Regions from separate parts of the Homo sapiens genome. Here regions 2, 3, 4, 5, 6 and 7 are each linked to region 1. The links are contacts of gene promoters, found by promoter capture Hi-C in blood cells and fetal thymus (Javierre and others, 2016). All regions are on one chromosome and are shown on one strand. The core of a region is centred on a gene start or on the middle of the fragment in contact, and the rest is flanking DNA. Distances in the headings are between cores, read along the strand shown.

Region 1 (3,654 bases), core at 630-3,129:
TTATAGAACACTTCATCGCCTCGATTTCCCAGCCTCCAAAGTTTCAAGTGTTACACTTTCAACACGTTAAAAGCACTCAAATTCCCCATCTTTCAAGGTTCATATCAAAATCATATTCACTAGTTTAAATAGGAATATGCTACCAAATCTCACAACATTGACATTTTAACAAAGAGAATTCACATTAAAAGATAACTGCTTTAAAATGAGTGCTTGTGTTTGGGAAAGCGCTATTATCTTGGTAGTCCACAGAAACTGACTGTAGTAATAAGATGAATGGTGATGAGGGCAAGGAGCATCAAGTGGGAAATGCTATCTAAAATCCCATAGGGCAATTCATAGCTAGAGGGAAGAACAACCTTTCCTAAGATGCATTATTTCCTAGAACTCCATTATTTCATGGAAGCAGTTCAAAGCATGCAAAAAAGCAAAACCATTTTAAAACACCTAGTAAACTGGGCCTCTATCTTTTTTATATTATCATAAGCCCCAGGAGTTTTTGAGAACGTACCTTCTGTCACGGCTGTCTCCCCTTCCCATCCCTTCTTCAACATAGTTGTGTTTAAAAAATATATACCTGTACTTAAAACGCAATCCTACAGCCCAGCCTAGGAGCATTTCAAAATGTCTGTGCTGCTGAGTCTGGCTGTGGTTCCTAATAAATTCACCCCATTAAGTGTGATGTTTTAGGTTGGGCAACATAAACACGCATTTCCTACTTCCATGGATGCACATTTCCTGAAAGCACTGCACCTAAGGATGCTGCCCTGTCCCCCGACGCTCAGGCACTAAACTCTAAGGAGTCACGACCTGCACTCACAGCAGAGCCACACGGTCACCCCAGTGAGAAAGATTATCTGGCCCCAAGCGCCACTCTCTCCGGCCCACTGCATCTCCGGAACTGGCAGAGGAGAGCGAGGGTGAGAAGAGACCATGGGGAGCGACTGACAACAAGGCTGACACTTCCCCGTTTCCAGAAAGCGGCACTTGGGGGACACAAGGGATGTCCCACTAGCGACCGACCTCAGAGCAGGCCCTACGAACCCGTCCACCGATGGACATGGCGCGGCCACCTGGCCCGCCGTCCGGGGCGCCCGCGGCTTTCGCTCTCCCGGCCCGCGCCCTGGAGTGCGGCTCCCGCTCCCGGCCGCCACACGCAGTCTAAACACGCGGCGCTCGCCACCTCCCTGCCCGGGGGTGGGGGCGCCGCGCAGCGCTCGCGCGGACCCACATTTTTGCGGCTCTTGTCACGCACGAGAGAAAAGGCGAGGAGGGCGGAGGGGAGGGAAGACGCGGCAGCGATCCACGGAGACGGCCGGCGCCGGTGGCGTGTGCGCGTGTGCGCGGCGGGGAGGGCGGCCCCGGCGCCCCGCCGACTCCCGCTCCCGCCCCGCGCCCGGCGCCCGCTTACCTGCCGGGGTCGCTCCGAAGACTCGCACCACCGGCACCTTCTTGACAGGGGCCTGGGTGAGGGGGGATTGGCAGGTATCCAGCCCCTGCAGCGGGCTGGCCATGTAGTAGTCTGCAGTCACTATCCTTACTGAAAACATGTTCGCCGCCGCCGCCACTGCCTCCCTTCACTGGCGACCCGGCAGCGGCAGCAGCAGCGGCGGCGGCTCCCTCCGCAGCGGCGGCGGCGCCCCCTCCCCTTCTCGGCACGGCCCCCTCCCCTCACACAGAGGCACCTCGAGGAGCGGCGGGCGGGGCGGTGTAGGCGCTGCTGCCGCCGCCTCCTCAGGAGCACCCGGCAAGGGGCCGCAGGAGAGAAGCCCTCGAGCTTTCGTCGGTGCTGGTGCTGCCGCCACTGCCGCCACCGCCGGGAATCACACGGGCTCCTCGGTCCCAGGCTGCAGCTCTTGTTGCCATGATGATGATGTCACGGACGCAACCACTGGGGGGAGGGGAGAGGGGGGTGTGTGTGGCGAAGGGAGGCTGCGAGTAGTGCGGGGGAGGGGGCTCGGCGGGAAAAGGAGCGAGAGGGCGGGCGCCCGGGCGGGACACGGAGGGCGGGGGCCGAGAAGGGGCTTTCTCCCCCTCCCCGGGCACGCGGCGAGGGAGGCGGCCGGCGGCCGGCAGCGCCCGCGCGGGATCGATGACTCGGCTGGCGGGCACGGTCACCTGGGTGAGGGGCAGCGGAAGGGGCGGCGGAGCACCGATCTCATGGATGGGCTCCGAGGGGCTTGCGGGAGGGGGGCGCCAGTGTTCGGGGCCGTTTTGGCGGCTATGCAGGATTGGCAGGAGCTGCGATGCTCACACTTGCCTCGCCGACCGCCATTTCACATCCAGCAGAGGAGGCGGGGGCAGCCGCTGAGACGGTTTTTCACAAGGTAAGAAAATCCGCCCGCGTGAGGAGGGAGGCGAGGCGCAGATCTCGTGCCGCTGCGGCCTCGCGGGAGGGAAGGGCGGGCGGGCGGCGGAACGGGCGGGGCCGGGTGCGGACGCAGCCGGCCCTTCTCAGGTAACGCCGCGGCTCCGCGCGTGGCCCGGGGGCGGTGCGAAGGGTGGGGGCGCGCGGGCGCGGGCTTCGGCCTATAAAAGGGCCGCCCTGGCGTTCCCCCTTCCCGAACGTGCCGCGCGAGCCGCGGTGCCCCCTCCTCTTTGCTGCTGCAGTGTCTGCGCCGGGCCATTTAATGAGATTTATTCACGCACGGCTCTTCTCAGCTTTGCGAGGGGTTGGCAGATCCAGTGCACAGGGATTTCCCACTACCGTGTTTTTCTCCCGCCCCCTTCCTTCCCTCTCGTCCTAATACATCCTTCGTTGGTTTCCTCGGCCCCGCAGGCTGCGTCCCGGGCACGCGCAAGTACATGTAAGGACTTGTCAGCTGCCGGTGACCTCCCTCCTCCCTCGTCGCTCCTCCCCCAGCGGAATGTAGGATTAACAGTCTTTCCGAGAAAATTTTGGCCAAAGAAAAAGGCCTGTGAAAGTCACCGCGTTAGACGTGGCCTCCTCGTGTTTTTCACTAACACGTTATGGAAGGTTTTACTACCCGAAGGCATAAAAGCACCACCGTGGGGAAGGGCCGTTTTGAATAAACAACTTTATTCAAAAATCGAGAGGGGGTGAAGCGATGCAGTTAGGGAATTTTTGTTTTAAAGAGTAGTAACATGCAGCTGGCTTGGCTATTAAATTGGAAACAAGGGGTTCCTCTCTGACTTGGCCACTGATATTGGGCGTGACCTTGGACAAATAATTTTGTTTCTTTGGGCTCAGTTTCTACATATGTAAAACGGGAAGGTTTCTCTTAAAAACTAATCCTGAAGGGTTTCTTCTCAACAAAAAGATGCAAGCTGTAGGAGGCAGAAAGCGTGGGTTCAAGTTCGAAATTTGCCCCTGAATTAGGACCCTTGACACATTTCTAACCCATCCAAGTAGAGATCGTTCTTTTACATTTGTGTGTTATACAGGTGCATTTTAGTGGTTACCAGGTTGCCACGTATTTGAAGTGGTGTGAGAGCTACTCGTTTGGAACCGTTGTGGATTTTCAAATAGGAAAATCAAAAGGCCCAAAGAGACAGCTCACTGGTAAGAAGCTGTCTATAAATTCCCTAACATATAAATGCTATAATAAGAACTTACGCTCCGAGGGATTTGAGACTGATTACTACAGTAAATTAGCTTGTAGTTTTTAACCTCAGAGCATGATTATAAACATA
Region 2 (3,654 bases), core at 857-3,356, 680 kb after region 1:
AACTCCTGGGTTCAAGCACTTTCCCCCACCTTGGCCTCCCAGAGTGCTGGGATTAGAGGCGTGAGCCACTGCACCAAACCAAAGCCTGTTGAGCTGAGAATATATCTTACATATTTAAACGGTTGTAAAAAAAAATTAAAAACAAACAAAACCCAGAAAAAAATAAGAGACAGTGGTTGTACGTGGCCTGCAGAGCCTAAAATATTGACCACTTAGAGGGTGTGCAGAGGCGAGGCTAGCAAAGGGGGCTGGGAAGAAACCGCTAGCCAGGGTAGAGGCCATGAGCGGTACCAGAGCAGCCAGGACAAGGGCGCCACCTGGTGTTTAGAGGAGGGAGGGCTGAGAAAGCCCGGGAGAGACAGGCGGGTCGCTGGTGACCTGGACAGGAACAGTCTCAGTGAAGGGGATGGAACCCCCTTCAGAAACGGCCGAGTATAGGGGACAGTGGGAGTCTGGGAGGTAGAAACAGCAATGATAAGTCACTCGAGACATTTTGCTGTGAAGCTGAGCAGAATGGTAGGGCAGAAGTTAGAGGGGATGCAAGCTTTATAAAAGATTTTTTTACAGGGCTTTTTTCTTTTTGATATTTAAAAGATAGGAGATAGTACAGCACGTTTGTACGCTGATGGTAATGATTAAGTAAAGAATGAGAACGGGATGATTCAGAAGAAAGGGCATAACTTGAGGAGTGAAACCCTGCAACCTGTTTTCAAGGCCGGGCAGGAGAAGGAATGCTTACAACGGAGGGGAGGCAGAGGTGTGGGCACAGATGCAGGCGGGCCGGCGGATCTGGGGAGGAAGGATGAAGGGAGTTCTCTTCTCTTTGTTTCTAATTTTTCAGAAAGCAGGAAGCCAAGTCACCAGGCAGAACTGATAGCATGGGAAGTGGGTTCCCACCAGTCGCATGCAGCTGCTCTGGTATGGCCATGGTGCTGGGGATGAGTCAGAAATCTCAGGTAGGTACAACAGAGGAACAGGCAGATATGGTAGTTAAGGGTATTTTGAAAGAATTATTATATTTGATAATTTGAGCTGCTTAAGGAGGGAAGAAAGGACATGAGAGGGGTACGGTAAAAAAGGCAGGGAGGTCTCCATGTGGCCAGAGAATTACTGGAGTGGGCATTCTAGAATAAGTGAGATAGGAGATGGTGCTCTGGGAGGGAGGTGCTTGAAACTAGGGTTTGGGAGGAGGTACTGTTACTGAGGACAAGATCTGGGTATGGCCATAGGTGGGAAAACAGAGGTGGACTGGAGGATAAGCTTGCTGGAAAGGGCAAGTTCAAGGAGCTGGAGGTCAGAGAGTCGGTGACTTCATCCATATGGATTTTGCTGTCACCAAGGAGAGTGATGGGAGTCAGTTTGGAGAGAAAGACAGTTTGGTGCTGAAATAGTCAACGGACAATCAAATGACCTTAAAGTGATATCTTTCGAAAGGTAATAAAATGAACTAAGAGTAATTTCATGATAGTTCAGTTCACTGCATTTTATTGGAAATTTTCTACTTTTACAAAATGTGACTTTTATTGATTTTGAATGCCAGATTTATCAAACACAACTTTATGAGTGAAGAGTGAGTAGGATGGATCGAGAGCAGCATTTTCAATAGAACTCTCTGCAAGAAGTTCCACTATATTCAGTGGCGCAATGCCTGTTTCTGCACAATGCTTGTGCCACTGAATATAGTAGCTGCTAGCTATGTGGCTGCTGAGGACTTGAAAAGTGGCTAATGTGACTGAAGAATTAAAATTTTAATTTTATTTAATTTTAAGTAATTTAAATTTAAGTAGTCATATGTGGCTGGTGGTCATCGTACAGTGCAAGAAACTAAAACATTCAGTCATCTGATCTTTATAATGCCTGCTCACTGGTTAGATATGAATTTATTATTATTCTGTGACACTGAGCTGCTGTTGTAACCTGCTGGAAATACAAACCTGAACAAGTCACGTGCGTCCTTACCTTTATTATATCATCAAGTTCTGAAAGAGTTAGACGAGGTGTTGTCAGAGAGTCCGCAGATGTGCTCAGAGACATGTTCACCACTTCCATTTGTTCCCTCACTCTTTCCTGTTGTTTCTGCGGGAAGGAAGAGTAAGGGAGAGTGAAGTGAATATGTCTTTAGGGAAAGCGTTGGGGAGAGCAGTAAATGTCAACTTGCTCTCTTTGGACTCAGACAAATCTGGGTTCATATCCCAGCTCCATCCTTGCTGTGTGCCTTTGGGGAATGCTACCTGTTTGATGCTGCTTTCTCATTTATAATACAGAGATAACAACAGTAAGAATCTTGGGAGATTAGACATACGGAGGATTATTATAACACCGTCATTTCAAAGAGAGCTAGCGCCTTAGAGAGGGCATTTGTCTCTTTTTCCCAGAATATAAAAGAGGACTATGGAGAAAGGATTGAACACAGGCTCTATATTTGCAGTGATTGGAATATGAATTAATTCAAAAAGTATTTATCATGTGCCAGCCTTGGGCCTGACACAAACAGCCCATTTGGACAGGAACAGAGAATATACAAAAATAATCTTATTATGTCCTTTTAAAAATTAAAAATGGCCCTACTATTAAAGCATCAAATTTTAATCTTGCTTCATACCTCTCAGAGCTCTTTATTGTAAATGCTCAGATGTTTTGAGAAGGGAAAGTAAATACTAATACATGTCTTGATGAGTACTTTAATTTCTACCATCACTTTTAGGTTCTAGAGGCAGGGACATTGTGATTCTGAAGAAATATTATGGGGCTTCCAATGAGTTTAGAGTTTGAAAGAAACATAGAAAGAAACTTTAGGAGGGAAAAGTAAAAGACTCATTTTACAATTTGAGTGAAAAATGAGTTGAAGTTACCTTAGAAATAGTAACAAGTCAGAGTTGAAATATACATTATAGTGTAATCTAGAATATCATAGAAATAATTATAGAAGCCTAGATAGAGAAGGAAATACTTTAAAGCTTTTTAAGTTCATCTTAATGTCCTTTCTTACTCCCTGCAGTCTTTTCTGGCTTAAAGAAAAGGAAGAATGGAACCCATCTTCTCCAGATATGTTGTTATGGGGTAGGTGTAGGTCTAGAGACAGAAAAGAATCACATTTGAACATCCTCTTAATGCAAGAACATTTTTAAAGAAACAATTTTCCCTGAATATCCATCAAGCCTAATACAGTGTGACTATCTGAGATCAATTATTCTTATCTTTACAAAGACTGGGAGTTATACAGCAAAAGCAATACTGTAAAATATGTGTATTAAAATATGTAAAAGAAGGGAGTTGAAAAAAGGTTGGTATTATTTACCTCTCACAGAACTGTTTTCCTTTTACAGTGTTCTTTACCCCTTCTGTAAGTTCTCTCTGGGTGACTGCGGGAGAACACTGCTAACACCCTGAAGTCAGAGACAAACTTCAAAGCTGTGTGCTAATAGCACTGTATATAAGCTTATTTGCAGTAGATGAAAAACAATATGCTTCAAGTTAATGAGTTTCTCCCACTTACCGTATATAGCATTAGACAGAAATGAATAAAATTAGCTTTGAAACAAATAAAGATATTTCCACAGAAAAGTGGTCAACTTGAACAAAGTAAAATGTTGAAAACTGATAATTATGAAAATGACACAATTGTCACTATTCAGCATGCTTCACTGTGCATAT
Region 3 (3,654 bases), core at 654-3,153, 610 kb after region 1:
CAAGTCATACAACGAATATTCTCTGACAAAAATGGAACCTAATTAGAAATCAGTAACAGAAAAGTAGAATATTCCTAAATATTGGAAAATACTTATATAGAACACTGAAGCCAACTATAGCAGCATATACATTCAAGTATGTGTGAAACATTTACCAAGGCAGTTTATATTCTGGCTATAAAAACAAGTCTAAATAAATTTAAAAGGATTCAAGTGATACAAAGAATGTTCTCTAACAAAAATGGAACCTAATTAGAAATCAGTAACAGAAAAGTAGAATATTCCTAAATATTGGAAAATTAAACAATATAATTGTAAATAACCCATAGGTCAAAGAAGAAAAAGCAAAAAAATTTTAACTGAAGGAAATGAAAATACAAAATTAAAAAATTTGTGGAATGCAGCTAAAGGAGTGCTTTGATGGAAATTTATAGAATTAAATGTTTACATTAGAAAAGAAGAAAGCACTAAAATTAATGACCTAAGCTTCTACCTTAAGAAATTAGAAAAAGAAAAGCAAATTAAGCCCAAAGTAGACAGAAGAAAAGAAATAATAAAGATTGGAGTGGAAATAAAATAAATAGTAAATAGAAAATAGAGAAAAATCAATGAAACCTAAATATGTGTCCTGAGAAATTAAAATTATTTGATAGGCTTCCTTGTTCATAAGATAAAGTCTAAAATTTTAACTTGAGTTTTTGCTCCTGCGTGATTTGGCCTGTGCTTATGTCTCAGACTCCATTTATTTTCTGTTTTCCATGCTGTGGTTATGCTGGCCTTTCAGATTTTTTATTGTCTTTACTAGCATGACCTTTCCACATGCTGTTTTCCTCTTTGCCCCCTCCTCAACTGTGTCAATGTTTTTGTCTCCCACTCATTTCCACCTAATTAATGCCCCCCATCTCTTAGATTTAGATTAAATATCCTAGACTAAAACAAATCCTATCGTAACCTACAAACTCTACCACAACAGGAACTGTGTTTGTTTTTGCTTAATCTTTTATCTTTAACACTTAACACATGCCTGGCTCATGGTGGATTCTCAGCAAATATTCATTAAATGAATGAATGAATGAAGTCCATGGGTCTTTTTTTCTTAGAACATGACAAGTTCAAATATCACTCATTTTCTGCATCTCATGAATTAATATCTTGAGAATTGAAAGACTATTACTCTTGAGCTTGTGATACTTAAGGGGGTATTTGGATACTTCATCTTTTTATTCACCATTTGCATTGCTCTTGTTTATCTATTGCTTTATGAAAATATGCTGGAGACTCAAATTCCTTTTGTCTTCTGAGGTATCATTCTAATGTTGTAAAGTTTCATCATTAAGACTACTGTTTGGTTTGTTTCATTGTATCACCCATTCTAAAGAAGCATGGTATGCCAAATGGACTAGTTAAAATGGTAAATTACAGGATTTTAAGAATACCCCACTTACAGATATTTTACTTCATATATATCCATGACTAAAAGGTGAAATCAGTGTCTCAATACTCTGATTTCAAGAATGACACAAAAATATGTAGGAAGTAGTGCTGATTGAATTCTTGTGTCCCAGTTATTGGCTTTATACATGTTAGATTGTTTTTAATTCCTCACGACAACTCTGTAAGGTAGGAATTAATACCATTTTACAGACAAACTTTTAGTGATTTGCTTAAAATCTCAGAGCTAACATTGTGTCAAAATTCAAACCTGGCTGGGCACAGTGGGCTCATGCCTGTAACCTTAGCACTTTGGGAGGGTGAGGTGGGTGGATCACTTGAGCCCAGGAATTTGAGACTAGCCTGAGCAGCATGGTAAAACCCTCTATCTACAAAAAAATACAAAATTAGCTGGGCATAGTGGTGTGCACCTGTAGTCCCAGCTACTTGAGATGCTGAGGCAGGAGGATTGCTTGATTCCAGGAGGTCGAGGCTGCATGCAGTCAGCCATGATCATGCCACTGCACTCCAGCCTGGATGACAGAGCAAGACCCTGTCTCAAAAAAAAAAAAAAAAAAAAAAAAACCAAAAAAAAAAAAAAAGAAAAAAAAAAACCTCTAACCTAATTCTGATGCTAAAACCCATCATTCTCCCCACTGCTACCACCTCTCAAACATGTAAACTATTACATTTTTTGCCATCCTAAGGACCAAATGTTTAGGTCCTAATGATACCTTAGCTCACAATGGCCAGCAATTATTTGTTTGTGTGACTGTGACACCGTCAGTTATTTTTCCAAGCTGAAATGGTGATCAACTTATTCACAGATAGTACCCTAGTAAGAAAAAGAAGGTGGAGGTAAGATTGTATCCAACATCAAGTTAATTCTTATGTAAAATGCCAGTTTTCTATAACTTGAGTCATATGAAAACACAACAGTGGTAAAAATGCTCACTAACATTTAATAGTTTAGTCATCGGATATGAAAATTGAAAAACTGCTTAGCTGAAGAGTTATGTTCTGGTATAAGGGTTAAACTAAACATTACTGAGTAGAGGAGAAGTTCATGAGGTGGGCTATTGATCTAGAAGCCAAGAATGAGTTGGGAGAGGGAGAGCAGTTAGAGAAATGAGCAGAGAAGCAGCCCAGGGCTCAGGGAACAGAATAATGAGGACAGTACAAGATGTATTCTTCCTTTCGGCCGGGCGCGGTGGCTCACGCCTGTAATCCCAGCACTTTGGGAGGCCGAGGCGGGCGGATCACGAGGTCAGGAGATCGAGACCATCCTGGCTAACACGGTGAAACCCCATCTCTACTAAAAATAGAAAAAATTAGCCGGGTGTGGTGGCGGGTGCCTGTAGTCCCAGCTACTTGGGAGGCTGAGGCAGGAGAGTGGTGTGAACAGGTGAGGCAGAGCTTGCAGTGAGCCAAGATAGCACCACTGCACTCCAGCCTGGGTGACAGAGCGAGACTCTGTCTCAACAACAACAACAAAAAAGATGTATTCTTCCTTTCACAATTGTAATTATTCCAGCCATTTGGGAATTTGAAGACTCTCTTGAGGAAACAGGAAAAAAAAATAAAGTTAGTCCAGGCATTAGAGAGAGGGTGTAAAGAATCCCATGTAAGAGTTATAGAGAAATTTGTAAAGGTACAATTTGGGTTTGAGGATATTGGAGTGAGATGAGGATGTAGACAGATGGGATTTATTTGGGATGTTATAAGAGAAGGTCTGGGAGAGAAAGGGAATGAGGAAAACAGGATATAAAATGAGAAGAATCTCAATTCTGATTTACTACAGGTGGATTAGACTGTAGGTCCCCACTCATGGATGAAAATACTAATATTGTAGGGAAATAAGCCAGTAAAAACAAGAATGAAACTCTCCAAAAAGCTTTAGAGAAAATTTTTAGCTAAGCCTCAGCTTGTTGTTGGAGCTATGCATTGAGATGTTTGATTCTTTAGCAGGTAGGAAACTATGTGAAAGAATCTCCTGATGTCATAATTTCCGGGTGTCACCGGAACATTTGATCATCATTCCTTTGGCAATTCCAGCCTTCTGTGGAAAGGCCAGTAGAAAGCATTGATTTATTCACCTCTACAGGAATCAGACTCAGCCTCTTTTGGTAAGTCTATTTATCCTTGATCAAATTAGCTAAATGTTAATACCTGCATAGATAGGTAGTTATACTAAACCACAGAGTTTATTATGGTTTCACTAAA
Region 4 (3,654 bases), core at 360-2,859, 590 kb after region 1:
TTAGTTAAACCAGAACATTATGGATGGTATCAATCTACTTGCTTAGTTTAGACGCTAAGTTATCTATTTTTTACTATTGGCAGTAACATGGTACAGTCTGATAGTGAACTAAGAGACATTTTGTAGGGGAACATTAAATTGGCTGTGTTGTGATTCAAGAAGCTAGAAACTCATTCCTTAAGAGTAGAAATCTAGGGATATAAAGAAATGAAGGTACTACCATTTTCCTTACTTTGTAATTCAACAGACTAGTTTTCTTACAAATAGAATGAAATAGTAACACAAAAATCAGAAGTAGTAGTAGTACTACTATAGTAGTACTGGTGGCAGTGGTAATAAAAATAGTATAGCTACGATTTTCTGAACACTTTCATAAAATAAAACATGTCATATATCATTTAAGACTCCTAAATAAAAACCATGTACTATTATTATCCTTATTTTACACTTGAAGAAAACAAGGCACAAAGAGACTAAGTAGTTTGTTCACAGTCACACTTTAGTAAGTGGCACTGCTAGAATTTGAAGGGCGGCTGTTAACTAACTACTATGCCACACTGTCCCAAGCAGCACACACAAATTATCTTTAAAAATATAAACCAAACCTTTCAATATTTCTACGAAGATCTGAAATTTGTACATTTCCTCTAACCATGAGTGCACAGGCGAGGTAAAGACTGTGTTTGGGGTCTGCCCGAAGCAGCTGGTGATCTTTACTAAAGGCATCTGAAAACATCTGATCCAATCTGCAACAATGAAATTGTCATTGTTTATACAAAATATTACTTCTTTCTATGTATAACTATAAAATGAAGATAGTCCTCTATAAGTAAGAAACCACACTAAATATTACACTAACAAAATATTAGATTATATATATTCTAAAAATATTAAATAACTATACTTTTCTTGAAGCAATCTTAATGATATGAGAAGAGAAGAAATCATATAATATTTTCTTTTTCTGGGGGAAAAGGCTTCTGCAGTATATGGGTGATTTCAGGTAGCTACAAAATGTTGACTGTAGCATTATGAACTCTATGTAGTACTGATTTTTGAAACTTGTATTATTATTACTTAGTTCGGTATACCTTATTTATTTCATAGTATCCAAACTACTAAAACTAATTAAAAGCCTAGAACATTAAGACTATTACTTTGTAAAGTATATTATATCATAAATTTTGTTAACAGGAGGAAATTATCAAAGGACAATGTGAAGCTCTCCTATAAAAGATGAAACTCCATAGTAGTTCTCCTAAAAGTAGAGACTTTTAACCTAAGTCTTTTAACTGAAGGATAAAAGACAAAAGAAAATAAAGGTGACTGACAAAGTTTATATCTAACAATACACAGACTCCAATGCTAGGCTGATGCCAATGGACATTTAATAATCACCATGTTGCATACACTGTGTATGTTGCTTAGCTTGTTAAGGTCATCAGCATCCCATGCAGAAACGGAGTCCTATCTATTAGTTGGCAAAGTGGTCATTTGCTGTTGGCTTAGATGAAAACTTACCAATATCACTTGTGACATTCCTGAAGTATAGAATTATCTTGTCAAAACTTTAGTTATAAAAAAGAATCTTTAGTTTTCTTTAAAAACTTTTAAAAAATTATTTTCAATCTGTTTTAGAGACAGGGTCTGTCTTCCTTTGTTGCCCAAGCTGGAGTGCAGGATCAAAATTATAGCTCAATGCAGCCTCAAACTCCTGGGTTCAAGTGATCCTCCCACTTCAGTCTCCAGAGTAGCTGGGACTACAAGTGCAGACAGGGTCTCACACTATGTTGCCCCGGCTGGTCTTGAACTCCTGGGCTCAAGTGATCCTCCCATCTCATCCTTTCAAAGTGTTGGAATTACAGGTGTGAGCCACTGCACTCAGCCAATTTAGTTTTCCCTTTCTTATTTACATACTGTCTCCTTACAGAGTTTGGCAGGACTTTTTCCCTCAGTCAACTGTGAATGCCACTGTGAACTTTTCAAGCTCATCATCAGTATACATGCTAAGAGTATCTTTCAAAACTACATTTTTTGTTAAGTATACTGATGTAATCTTTATGCTTAACAATGACACACAGTTATAAAGCAAGGTGTTCTGGAAAACATACAGAGTTACATCTGAAATTCTTCTATGGTACTGGGCTGTGACAGTAGCTTTAAAACAAACTCTCATTTAATCTACCCAATAAGTATATGAGGTAGGTACTATTTCATTTTTACAGATGAGAAAAACTAAGAAAGTTTAAGTCACTTGCCCAAAGTCCTGTAGCTAGCGACAGTTAGGATTCAAATGTGTTTGTCAGACTTCAAAGGACTTTTCATAAGCCTACAAATTTAATCATTAGATTTAAGTTCAAATAGTTTAATACTGGCATTTTTCAACAATTACTTCTAAATAAAGATGCATTCATCTAATGCAAAAATGGATGTCATCAACTCTCACAGATAAGATGATACAATTAAATAACTAGAGTTATTGCAAACTTTTTTCTCTTAAAAATGTTTTTTAAAGTAATTTGAGGCCTCAAAAAATTGAAACAAAGTTACACCTTACCTTCTAGGAGGAATGTTAACATCTGTCAGTGTATACAGAGGTGTTAGGCTTGACACGAGATAATGAAGTTGAGGAAAAGGAACTAAATTCATGCTGATTTCATTAAGGTCCATATTAAGGGACCCTTCAAATCTTGCAGAGCTAAAAAGTTAACATTAAAATGAGAAAATTTTTAATTTTAAAATTATACACTTTAAATGTAGCTCGATTTATTCAGCAGGTAGTTTCTTAAATTCTTTTGTACACTGTTCTTCAGTGCAGAACACATGCTTTTCTTCCATATTAGTGAAAGTTAGTATCAGAACAATCATGTATAAAATAAAATATAACACACAACATCTACATTTTTTTTTTCTTTCTTTTTTTTTTTTTTTTGAGACAGGGTCTCGCTCTGGTTGCCCAGGCTGGAGTGTAGTGGTGTGATCTCAGCTCACTGCAACCGCCGCCTCCCATCTCAGCCTCCTGAGCAGCTGAGACTACAGTAGGCATACAACACCTTGCCTGGCTAATTTTTGTATTTTTTGTAGATATGGGATTTTACCATGTGCCCCAGGCTGATCTCCAGCTCCTGGGCTCAAGCAATCTACCTGCCTTGGCCTCCTAATGTGCTGAGATTTACAGGCATGAGCCACCATGGCTGGCCCTACAGTCATTCTTTCTGGATTATCTGAAGTGTAATCAATATACTATTATAGTTGCTCATTACACATATAAAAATATCCTATTTAAAACAAACTTTATATTTGAGTTAAACACATATAAGTCAATAATTAGTAACTGTAGAAACAACTAATTTCCTCAAGAATCTGCTTAATATACTCTATAATCTAGAATATAATAATGTCAAAGCAATCTCTGATACCAAAAAGCCACAGAAATCTTTTGGACCAGTTAATGAGGAGGTACAGATTAGTTGGTTTAAATGATTAAGACATTCTACAGCTAAAAAATGTTTAATTTTGTCTACGTGTTTTACAAGTGTGTCAACCACAAAATCTTTTACATCATATGATATCTGTTCATATTCCATGGAACATACTTGGGGAAATGCTGCTTTGGAGTCATAGAAGGTAAAATTCTGCGTGATCACTCCAAGA
Region 5 (3,654 bases), core at 684-3,183, 570 kb after region 1:
CCATCTTGGTTCCATTCTCCCCGTCACTTTCAGGTACACCAATCAGAGGTAGATTTGGTCTTTTCACATAGTCTCATATTTCTTGGAGGCTTTGTTCGTTTCTTTTTATTCTTTTTTCTCTAAACTTCTCTTCTCGCTTCATTTCATTCATTTGATCTTCCATCACTGATACCCTTTCTTCCAGTTGATCGAATCGGCTACTGAAGCTTGTGCATTCATCACGTAGTTCTCGTGCCATGGTTTTCAGCTCCATCAGGTCATTTAAGGACTTCTCTACAGTGAGAACACTGGGACACAGGAAGGGGAACATCACACACCGGGGCCTGTTGTGGGGTGGGGGGAGGGGGGAGGGATAGCATTAGGAGATATGCCTAATGCTAAAGGACGAGTTAATGGGTGCAGCACACCAACATGGCACATGTATACATATGTAACTAACCTGCACATTGTGCACATGTACCCTAGAACTTGAAGTATAATAATAAAAAAAAAAAAAGAAAAGAAAAAGATCAGATTGGACCAAAACAGACACATTTTCTTCACTACTCCATTATCTGGTTTTGTCCTATTTCTTAGGGAGGCAAGATAAGGCGTTGGCATCCTAACTGCAGTGGGTATTCCTTGTTGTTTGATGTGCATATACTTACAGTTTAATGACTCCTTAGTAAGCTCTGTGTGATCTGCAGGTTTTAGGGTGTCCATGGTTCTCCAAGGACACCAGATTCTCTGTGGTGGAGGACAGCCTCGTTTTTCCCAGGCCCTCAGCTCAGGCCTAAGCGAGGCTTGATGTTGTCTTTATACAGTAGTGACTGCCTTGAACAGTAACAAAGGTGAGCAATCGGTATAGGATAGGTAAGGCAGCAGGAAAAGGAGGGATAGGTAACTGATCAAAGGAAATAGAAATAGGCCTTGGGATGGGGGCAGGCAGGTGGGACGCCTCAGGGACCTGAGAGGGACAAAGCACCACGGCAGCTGCAAATGAAGATGGGAACACAGACCCAGGCTGAGAACATGGAGAAGCGAAGGTCCCACATGATGACACAGGAGGAGATGCGCTGGTGGTCACACCTTTCAGGGAGGTGAGTATGAAGAAGAGGAGTACAAACCTGTCAAAATTTTATTTTTAATCTTTTTTTTTTTTTTGAGAATAATTCTCACTCTTGTCCCCCAGGCTGGAGTGCAATGGTGCGATCTCGGCTCACTGCAACCTCCGCCTCCCAGGTTCAAGCGATTCTCCTGCCTCAGCCTCCCAAGCAGCTGGGATTACAGGCGCCTGCCACCACACCTGGCTAATTTTTGTGTCTTTTTTTTTTTTTAGCAGAGACGGGATTTCATCATATTGGCCAGGCTTATTTTTAATCTTAATTCATTAAATGAATGATTGCTACCAGTGTAATTGTTTTATTTTAGGCCCGGAAAAATGGAGGTTAACTTCATTGTCATCTGTCATGGAACTGTGGCCACAAAAAGAGGCGTCTCTCAGGCCAGGTACTGTAGGAGTCCGCCCCCTGCTCCATCTGTATTTTTTCCACTCACAGTCCACCTGGCATGAGAAAGGTGTTGGGATAAAGGTGAGCCCAGGGCACTGTGGGTGCCTCCGAGAGAATCTGAGCTGGGGGAGTCAGGGTCCTTCGAGAGCCTGCCATTAATATGGAGGGGGAAAGCCAGGGCTAGGCTGCGATGGGTGCTGTTGGTGGGGGGGCCAGGCCTGCACTCTGTACGTGAGGGTGAAGCTGGAGAAGGAAGCAGCCTAGAGAGGACCCGGAGCAGGGCAAACACAGATGGAGAAGCTGAGGGCAAGGAAGGGAATGACGTGGGACCCCACCCGTTGTCGGGGGCAGGCTCTGCTCTCCAGGAACAGGTAACACAGTCACTTAGAGAACAGTCACTACTTGCCCTGCCCTCCTGAGTCCCGGGAGGAAAGTGCTCGCCCATTCCTGACCTGTGACACGCTCACTGCGAAGGCAGGTTATTAGAAGAGTCCCATGAAAGTAAACAGGGTATTAAAACGGATCCTTAAAAATGAAAGTGCAGGCTGAAAGTTGGTAGTGTGGGAGGTAGAGGGTGTGTGTTCTTGTGCAGAGGAGCGTGGGGTTTGCAGAGGAGACAGGGGAGCTTTGTGTACCCGGAGCAATGAACAAGCGGCGACTTCTCTACCCCTCAGGGTGGCTCCACGGTCCCAGCGACATGCAGGGGCTCCTCTTCTCCACTCTTCTGCTTGCTGGCCTGGCACAGGTAAGTCCTCTCCCCCGACTCTTTCCCTTCCGGAGGCTATGGCCATCCTTAGTTCTTCAGGCCCAAAACTAAACAAAACGAAGATGGAGGAAGAGGGAGGATCAATGGCTTGTGGAACTACTTCATGAGAAATAGGAAGCCATTTTTCTTTCCAAATAAAGTTCTGTGTTCGTTCATGAGCTTCATGAAAGAAATGTAAAACATTTCTCCCTTTCAGGTAATGGCACCGAAGCCTCCTTTCGCTATGTTTGAACAGCGCCACGCTTTCCTATATATTTTTATAGCAGAGCCTAAGGCACAGCCTGGCACAGTGCGGGAAACAGTGTCTCTCCATGCCAGCTCCAGGCGGAGGCTCAACTTTCCATTGCTGTTTGCAAAATGTGCAAAGAGCCCCTGGAAAAACGAATTTTGACAGCGACTTTTTCCAGTTAAGTCTGTCCTTCTTTGAAAGGGGCACTTTGGAATAAACATTTACATTTTTAAAACATTCTCTTACTTTGTCTTTTCTCAGTCCATGTGTTTCTCACTTCCTGAAAGGGAAGCAGTCCATGGAGGCTTGGAAATATTTCAAGCAACAGACCAAAGGGAAGTTTAACTTACTATGAGCAATTCATTGCCTTAGTCTTTTTAAATAAGAAGATGAAAACAAGGTGACTTAATTGTTGATTTATTTACACGGTAGACAGGAGACAGAGCTTTTGAAATCTGGTGATTTAGGAAACATGGGTGTGTCTGTGAGTTAGTAGTTGATTGGGGCCATAAGTAGTAGATACATCTTAGAAAACAAGGAATTGCAAATTGTTATACCATATAGAGAGAGATTTACGATTTCAAAAGAATCATGACAAGAATGTCAGTGGTCCAGGTCATTGCTGCTGTTCTGTGGAGGGGCTCACTCCCCTGTCTGTGTGCCTCCTATTCCACTGTTCTTGAGAAAAAGCCTGTCATTGTGGATTGAGAGCAGCTAGATGTTCTTAGACAGCAGGTATTCCAACACAGAGAGATGTGTACAAAATAAACAACAACAAACACAGAAAGGTGTTACACAAAGAGCGGTAAAAATGGATTATTTTGTGCTTAACTTTGCTTTTATGAATTCATAAATTCATGAAATAGCTGATAATACCTAGCATTTACTGAATAGCTGCTATATGCCAAATACTGTGCTGGGTGCTTTATTTATTTATTTATTTATTTATTTAGAGACAGAGCCTTGCTCTGTCGTTCCAGGCTGGAGTGCAGTGGTGCAGTCTTGGGTCACTGCAACCTCCACCTCCTGGGTTCAAGCGATTGTTGTGCCTCAGCCTCCCAAGTAGCTGAGATTACAGGCCTACACCACCATGCCTTGCCAATTTTTGTATTTTAGTAGAGATAGGGTTTTGCCCTGTTGGCCAAGCTGGTCTTGAACTCCTGACCTCA
Region 6 (3,654 bases), core at 854-3,353, 550 kb after region 1:
TCTTGGTCAACCAATCAACTAATCATCTAATTAAGGACTACCTTCCTATAAGGATCATCTTTGGTATGCTAACTGTGGAAATCAGAGTAATAAAAAGGTACCAGCCCTGGGGGCTCCCAAGTAAAAACTTTTCTCATGGCGATTGCAAGATTAAGGACAGTAACATGGCCCAGGAAAGTAGGAACATGGGAGACATCTGATAATTCTGTGGCCCCTGCGAATGCAGAGGCTGTAATGCAGTTTAGGCTCCTGCAGTGACCTATCGGGCTTGTCTTACAAGCACTTACTGTGGTCAGTGCTGACAGCAGAGAAAAAGACATCTGATTTTGGTTTTTGATAAAAAGCCATGGCTGGGGCAGGTGGGTGTGCAGGCAGGCCCTGTGTCCTGTTGTGGCCTTCGCATGGGTAATTTAAAATCTCTTCAAGAAATTCATCAACTAGAAATTTCTAACTATAAAATTATGAAGAAATCATTCCTCAAGGATATACTGACCACATATTTAAAGTGTTTCTTTTAGGCTGGGTGCAGTGGCTCATGTCTGTAATCCCAGCACTTTGGGAGGCCGAGGTGAGTAGATCACCTGAGGCCAGGAGTTCGAGATCAGCCTGGCCAACTTGGTGAAACCCTGACTCTACTAAAAATACAAAAATTAGCCAGGTGTGGTGGCAGGTGCCTGTAGTCCCAGCTACTCTGGAGGCTGAGGCATGAGAATCGTTTGAGTCCAGGGGGCGGAGGTTGCAGTGAGCCAAGATCGCACAGCTGCACTCCAGTCTGGATGACAGAGCATGACTCTGCCTCAAAAATAAAAATAAAATAATAATAATAAAAACAAATTGAAAAATAAAGTATTCCTTTTAGGTTCTTAAAGTCCTGTTTGGCGCTTCACTTTCCTATGCTTCTATCATCCAACATGCTTTCAAGGTTATTAATTCTTTAGAAATGTGTTTCCATTAACTTCTTTCATTTCCTTTCCTGTGCCATCCCTAAAGTCCAAGCTATTATAACTTCTAATTATATCAGTTATGAGATGACTACTTGTTTCCACAGTATTTCCCCAAACACATCTTAAGACTGTCTTTAGCTGCACAGAGTTTCCTAAGATGATGTTTATCAGGCTACTTTCCTGTTTCATAACCACAGTGATGTTCCATCTAAATGACTCTCCTTTATCTTCAGTGCTTCGGTGACCTGGCCTCATGTCACCCGGACAAACTTGGCATGTACATCCAAAATATTAATCAAGATTTCTTTCCTAATATCATCTCTTGGCAAATAGAAAGTCACTTTAGATATGTCTTTACAAAGCTGGGTGCCTTTTGAAAAGCACTGGTAATGTGTGTATTTTCTCTACTACTTTATTTGGAAAAAAAGTTCACTGCTTGGGGATCACATTTTAGACTGAAATCAGTGCTAGCTTGGGATGCTTATTGAGGTTACCTGTTCGAACAAAAAAAATGTAGGAAAAGACATCAAATACTAGTAATTACTTCTGGGAGTGTGATCTTACTTCTAAGATTTTAAAAGTGATTATTTTTGAAAGATTACTTAAAAAATACAGTAAGAAGGTACTTTGTGGAGATCATGAGTATGCAACTACAGGAAAAAGGTTATAAAAGCTAATCTAATGGGGTGGAACTGGTAAATCGTGGCTTGGATAAAATATTTAATAACAGCTTCATCCATGGATTGAAGTAATGCCATATATCCAATATCTTAGATGACTGTAGAGATGAGGTACTCTGTAAAATTGTGATAGATGACTCAAAATATGGCCTTAAGGGATCATGGTGATTCACGAGAAGAGTTTCAAAAACTGATGTATAAAATGTGATGGAGAAAAGTATTGTTTGTATGTTGTATAAGATATGACTGTAAACAAGCATGTGCATTCAAGGAAAGCCTTGCTGCCCACACATTGACACCATCAGGGCCTTCCTCAGCAGGGTTAGCTACTAGGCCTCCCTAGGCCGAGGTCTCACTATTGGGCCAGTCCACATCAGGTGACCAAGCAAGGTAAAGACATAAGGCCCTGGCCACTTTGGCTTCACTGAGGGTAACTCTGGTAGGCAACATTTGCTCCAGAGCTCTTTGCAGGGTTAGTGGCGTCTTTGTCAGGCTTGTTTCACAGTTTAATATCTTCCTCTGCTAAATCCTGCTTCTTTTCTCTTTCTTTGACAGGTATTGATCTCTAAAAAGTATTTCACATTCCAAACTCCATCTCAGCATCTGTTTCTGGAGAATTCAGTTTGTAACAGCATGGGTGCTACATTAATAAATATTACAAGGAGATGTTGATTAATTTATCTACCTCCTTACCAGTTTACACATTCAGGTTGGCTACTAAAATTTTTCTTTAAAAATTATCTCATTGGGAAAACTGGGTATCACCTTATGAATAAGGTCATTTTTTATTGCATACACTCAGTATTCCCATTGATACTGTATTGAGGCTGGTCCACTCACTGTCCCTCTTGCCCCATGCCCTATCCCCATATCATACCCCATTGCACTCATTCCTGCTCTTAGGTTCTGGCTCATGCCAATTCCTCAAAGTAAATTTCTGTTCTTCTGCTCTCTTGCACATGTAGACCCTACTCATTCTTCAAGGTCTTCAAAGAAAGTACCACTTCCTCCACAAAGGCCTCTTTGACTTATGTAGCCTTCTCTTTTATTCCTTAATTTTAAAAAAATTAAATGTTATTTTGTTTTAAAAATGCAACTCAGTTCAGTGCAGCTATTTTCTAATTGTTTCATGTGAATTATATCTCCCAGTAACTAATACAGCACAGAGAGCATAAGGTAGTTACCTGTAAAAACACTAGTCAATTGATAAATATTAAGGAATATCCAAAAAGTTTAAAGTTTAAATTATACCCTGAGAGAGCAATATGTTCCAAAGCCTGTTTCCGGGATTTTCCTTTTTCTTTAAAAAAAGTTTTCATGGTCAAATTTGTTTGGAAAATGTTGCCTGTCGTATCTTCCTACTGGGGATGAGTGCACTGGGTAGTTAAAGGATTGGAGAAGTTGCTCAGTAAATAAATCTGGTTGACTTTAACCCAAATTACTTTAATAAAAATGCATTTATTCCCTGTTTTAAATAGCATCTATGAGCATCTCTGTGGAATTTGTGTTGTGCGGAACATACTTTGGGAGTTGTGTCCCGGCAGATAGCAGAGACCTAGATGCCCATAGAAATAGACTCCATGTCAAATAGGCTGATGACTGGCACCTCCAAATCTAAGGGGGCACACGCAGGCTTGCGATGTCACCATTGCAGGCACAGGAAGCCAGCTGATGATGACTGGCACCTCCAAATCTAAGGGGGCACACGCAGGCTTGCGATGTCACCATTGCAGGCACAGGAAGCCAGCTGAAGGAACAGTGGGAGGAAGAGCTGGCAGTTAATGCCAGTGACTCATGGGAAAGGGTTGCTTTCGGGTAGCCAGCCGCAACCCTGGCTGCACATCGGAATCACCCAGGGAGCTTTAAAACATCCTGACGCCTGGGTCTCACCCCTGGAGACGCTGATGTCATGGGTCTGAGGTGGGGCCTGGGCACTGGGATATTGCAAATTCCCCACATGATTCTAGTTGCAGCCAAAGCTGAGAGCCACTGCTTCAAGCAAGTGGGAATGCTCGTGTGTGAGAGGATTT
Region 7 (3,654 bases), core at 725-3,224, 510 kb after region 1:
TTCCTGTAATATAAAGGCTCTGGTCCAGAAGATCTCCGAGGCCATTCCCATCAATACTGGTGGCAGGAAACTGTCTCCTCACTGCTCCCTTACACCCATTCTCTCCCCTCTTAAGCCACCTTATGTAGAGATAAATCTAACATTAGTTGAGTGTCTACTATTGCACTATTCAATATAATTTACAGATACAAACTCATTTAATCCTCATACAATCCTATGAGATAGATACTACTATTTCTATCTTGGGGATGAAGGAGTTGAGGCACAGAGAAATTATGTAACTAGCTTAGGGTCACACAGCAAGGAAGTGGCTGAGTCAGGACAGAAGCATTCTGTTTAAAAGTGTTATGGCTATTCAAAATGGTCAAAGGACTTGAATGGGTATTTTCTCCAAAGAAAATATGCAAATAGCCAACAAGCACATGAAAAGATGTTCAATATCTCTAGTCATTAGGGAAATGCAAATCAAACCCACAATGAGATGCCATATCATATCCATTAAAATGCTATTATCACACACACACAAAAGGAGAATAACAAGTGTGGTCAAGGACGTGGAGAAATTGGGACGTTTGTGCTTTGCTGATGGGAACGTAAAATGATGTGGCTACTGTGGAAGACAGTTGGGTAGTTCCTCAACAAGTGAAACACAGAATTACCCTATCGATCCAGCAATTCCACTCCTAGGCATATACCCCAAAGAACTGAAATCGGGAACTCAAATACTTGCACACCAGTATGTACAGCAGCATTATTCACACTATGCAAAACGTGGAAACAACCTAAATGGCCACTGACAGATGAATGGATAAACAAAATGTAGTATATACAGACAATGGGCTATCACTCAGCCTTAAGAAGGAATGAAGTTCTGACATGCCACAACATGAATGAACCTTGAAAACATGATGCTAAGTGAAATAAATCAGACACCGAAGGACAAATATTGTATGACTCCGCTTTTATGAGGTACGTAGAATAGTCAAACTCACAGAGACAGAAAGCAGACTGGTGGTTGCCAAGAAGTGAGAAGAGGGGAAAATGGGGAATTAGTGCTTAACGGCTACAGAGTTCCAGTCTGGGATAATAAAAAAGTTCTGAAGATGGGTGGTGGTGATGGTTGCACAACATTGTGAATCTACTTAATGCCACTGAATTGTACACTTAAAAATGATGAAAATAGTAAATTTTATAATATATATATGTGTGTGTGTATATATATATATATATGTCTTAGTTTGGGCTGCTATAACAAAATACCTTAGAATGGGCATTTTATAAATGATAGAAATTTATTGCTCTCAGAACAGCCTCAGTTCTAGGGGCTGGGAAGTCCAGGATCAAGGCACCTACAGATCTGGTGTCTGATGAGGGCCTATTCCTCATAAACAATGCCTTTTATGTGTCCTCACATGGCAGAAGGACAACAAGCTCCCTCTGGCTTCTTTTATATGGGCACTAATCCCATTCATGAAGGCTCTGCCCTCATGACTGAGTCACCTCCCCAAATTAATGCCATCACATTGGAGGATCAGGTTTCAACATATGAATCTGGGGGAAGCACAAACATTCAGAACATAGCAGTATATTTTACCACAATATTAAAAAGGTGGGCTGGGCACAGTGGGTCACGCCGGTAATCCCAGCACTTTGGGAGGCTGGGGCAGGTGGATCACCTGAGGTCGGCAATTCAAGACCAGCCTGGGCAACATGGTGAAACACCCCTCTATTAAAAATACAAAAGTTAGGCCAGGCACGGTGGTGGGTGCCTGTAATCCCAGCTACTTGGGAGGCTGAGGTTGTACCTCCCAGGTTGAATCTGGGAGGCAAAGTTTGCACCTGGGAGGCAAAGGTTGCAGTGAGCTGAGATCGCACCACTGCCCTCCACCCTGGGCAAGAGAGAGAGACTCCTTCTAAATAAATAAATAAATAAATATGTACAGTCAGATTCCTTCCCTCTAAACTACACCTATGCCATGTCCCTCCTGCTATAACACTGTTAGAGGTTCCTTTCCTCTCATCCTACTCAGTGACAGCACCTCCGCCTGGGACCCAAGTGTAGGCTGCCTCTCGTAATAAGTTCTCGGCTGCTTTCATGTAATAAGCCTCCTCACAGAAGCCACGGTCGTGGCTGCATCCTGGCCCCTGCTAGGCTGTTGCAGCCTCTGCTCTCTTCCCATGTCGGGGGTTGTCAAAGCCACACTCTTTACCAATAAACCTTTTTTAGTTGACACCAGTGCTCTGGACCCTATCTTTTGGGAATTTTTCTAAGCCTTGCCGTCAGTGCCACAATCTTAATGTTGAATGAGACACTGCTTTGCACCGGTGTCTGCGTGTATGATGTCACTGCATCACCACTGCAATTCTACTTTGGGTCTAGAGTCAAGGGCAGAAGTGGAAATGCAGCAAACAATAAATACTTCGTGACTTGCCTCAAAATGATAATACCGCCGACTTTTATTTCAGCTCTGGCTTCCAGCTCGCCTTTGGGATTGGTCTGTGCTGAAAGCAATTTCCAAAGTTAGGACCAAAGAAGGAGCAGATGAATATAATTAGGAGAGGAAGAATAGGAGTCAGCCAAGCAGAGATCTGGTTCATTAATAATGGCCTTCGATTAGAATACTGCTTTTTGGGTGGCGTCTTTAGGATTCTCAGCATCAAGAGAGGCTGTAATTGCTTACAATGTTATCGGCCCTGTTGTCTTGTCATTTTATTTCTTAGCTGTTTTATATTCTGGGCGTAGAACCAGCTGGGAAGGATACAAGCCCAGTGGTGTCAGTGATAGCGGCTAACTGCAGGTATGGTCCATATTTAAGCCTGGGCTTTTATTCAAGTCCTTCATATTGTACACTCCTCAAACTGCTTAATGGAAGTGGGGGAAGAAGTGATATGGTTGGGGGGTCAGACAGGGAGGGGAAGGGAAGTGTTGAAACGTCATAAATTATGCAGTACTTAAAAAAATTCAAATTAATTTGAAGCACCTTTAATTATCTGCTTTATCCTCGTTTTATACTTTTGTCTGTGAAATAAAAAGCAACGTCCTCGCAGGCCGATGCGCTGTACCTGAACCGGGTGTGGCCAAACTGATCTTCCTGCCACCAAAGCCTGCAGGCTGTTCCCACTGCAGTGAAGACGTGCGGCGGTGAGCCTGCCTCTCCTGCCTGCGTTGGGAGGTGAGGTTCGGATGTGATCAACAGCGACCTCTAGCGTGAGCCTGAGACTTTGCATTTGGTTAAGCGTACAGAAGGAAAATAGCAGACATGGGAATTCTGATCAAATTTCCAACGAACAAAGGCGAGGTAACAAAAAACATTTCTCATTGTTTCCCCTGGTAGAGAAGCCCAGGACTGACAGCTGAGGATTTCACTTCATTGGTACCACTTACTCCCATCAGTGCTGGAGATGCTATTCCAAACATTGCCTTATTTCTTTTCCCTCAAACGGATCATTGGGATTGGTTTTAAAAAGCCCTTTCACTTGCCTTTAGGATTTCAACCAGAGAGTTCCCATAGGAAAGCATCAACTCTTTTACTGCAGGGTGTGTGTGTGTGTGTGTGTGTGTGGTTGAAATAGCGGACAGGAGAGTAGGAGAGAAGAGCAATGTCTCCGGGCGCTGTGAGGAGGTCAGGGGTTCCCGCTCACCCTTCTTCACTG

What was found. Contacts are between HindIII fragments. The CHiCAGO score rates a contact against its expected background, and 5 or more counts as called.
Region 2: a fragment that was not itself captured here is called in contact with the fragment with the promoter of REV3L in region 1 in 1 of 17 cell types (activated CD4 T cells); the score reaches 5.6 in activated CD4 T cells.
Region 3: a fragment that was not itself captured here is called in contact with the fragment with the promoter of REV3L in region 1 in 3 of 17 cell types (activated CD4 T cells, non-activated CD4 T cells and total CD8 T cells); the score reaches 6.6 in activated CD4 T cells.
Region 4: a contact is called between a fragment that was not itself captured here and the fragment with the promoter of REV3L in region 1, in 2 of 17 cell types (naive CD8 T cells and non-activated CD4 T cells). The highest score is 6.2, in naive CD8 T cells.
Region 5: a contact is called between the fragment with the promoter of CCN6 here and the fragment with the promoter of REV3L in region 1, in 1 of 17 cell types (naive CD4 T cells). The highest score is 6.1, in naive CD4 T cells.
Region 6: a fragment that was not itself captured here is called in contact with the fragment with the promoter of REV3L in region 1 in 10 of 17 cell types (activated CD4 T cells, naive CD8 T cells, total CD4 T cells and 7 more); the score reaches 13.6 in activated CD4 T cells.
Region 7: a fragment that was not itself captured here is called in contact with the fragment with the promoter of REV3L in region 1 in 4 of 17 cell types (activated CD4 T cells, non-activated CD4 T cells, total CD4 T cells and 1 more); the score reaches 9.6 in activated CD4 T cells.

What each region holds. Positions count from the first base shown.
Region 1 is chr6:111,481,339-111,484,992 of GRCh38, forward strand. REV3L (REV3 like, DNA directed polymerase zeta catalytic subunit) reads right to left here and starts at 1,880. Exons shown (of 32, transcript NM_001372078.1): 1 at 1,412-1,880. The coding sequence starts at 1,550. It also overlaps TRAF3IP2-AS1. RefSeq lists enhancers at 767-826, 2,667-3,026 and silencers at 1,197-1,276, 1,337-1,406, 1,467-1,766, 1,937-2,166, 2,207-2,596. The HindIII fragment of the contact is 6,397 bases long and covers 1-3,654 here.
Region 2 is chr6:112,163,201-112,166,854 of GRCh38, forward strand. LAMA4 (laminin subunit alpha 4) reads right to left here. Exons shown (of 39, transcript NM_001105206.3): 13 at 1,960-2,076. Among named protein-coding and RNA genes, the nearest start is that of LAMA4-AS1, 72 kb to the right of the region's middle. RefSeq lists an enhancer at 392-441. The HindIII fragment of the contact is 1,697 bases long and covers 1,259-2,955 here.
Region 3 is chr6:112,093,645-112,097,298 of GRCh38, forward strand. FAM229B (family with sequence similarity 229 member B) reads left to right here. Exons shown (of 4, transcript NM_001033564.3): 2 at 3,397-3,557. Among named protein-coding and RNA genes, the nearest start is that of FAM229B, 7.9 kb to the left of the region's middle. The HindIII fragment of the contact is 2,839 bases long and covers 485-3,323 here.
Region 4 is chr6:112,072,153-112,075,806 of GRCh38, forward strand. It overlaps TUBE1 (tubulin epsilon 1), which reads right to left. Exons shown (of 12, transcript NM_016262.5): 9 at 2,558-2,698; 10 at 606-746. Among named protein-coding and RNA genes, the nearest start is that of TUBE1, 14 kb to the right of the region's middle. The HindIII fragment of the contact is 6,092 bases long and covers 1-3,654 here.
Region 5 is chr6:112,052,171-112,055,824 of GRCh38, forward strand. CCN6 (cellular communication network factor 6) reads left to right here and starts at 1,934. Exons shown (of 5, transcript NM_198239.2): 1 at 1,934-2,235. The coding sequence starts at 2,188. The HindIII fragment of the contact is 6,629 bases long and covers 205-3,654 here.
Region 6 is chr6:112,034,515-112,038,168 of GRCh38, forward strand. No RefSeq gene overlaps it. Among named protein-coding and RNA genes, the nearest start is that of CCN6, 18 kb to the right of the region's middle. The HindIII fragment of the contact is 5,703 bases long and covers 1-3,654 here.
Region 7 is chr6:111,994,123-111,997,776 of GRCh38, forward strand. No RefSeq gene overlaps it. Among named protein-coding and RNA genes, the nearest start is that of CCN6, 58 kb to the right of the region's middle. The HindIII fragment of the contact is 4,369 bases long and covers 1-3,654 here.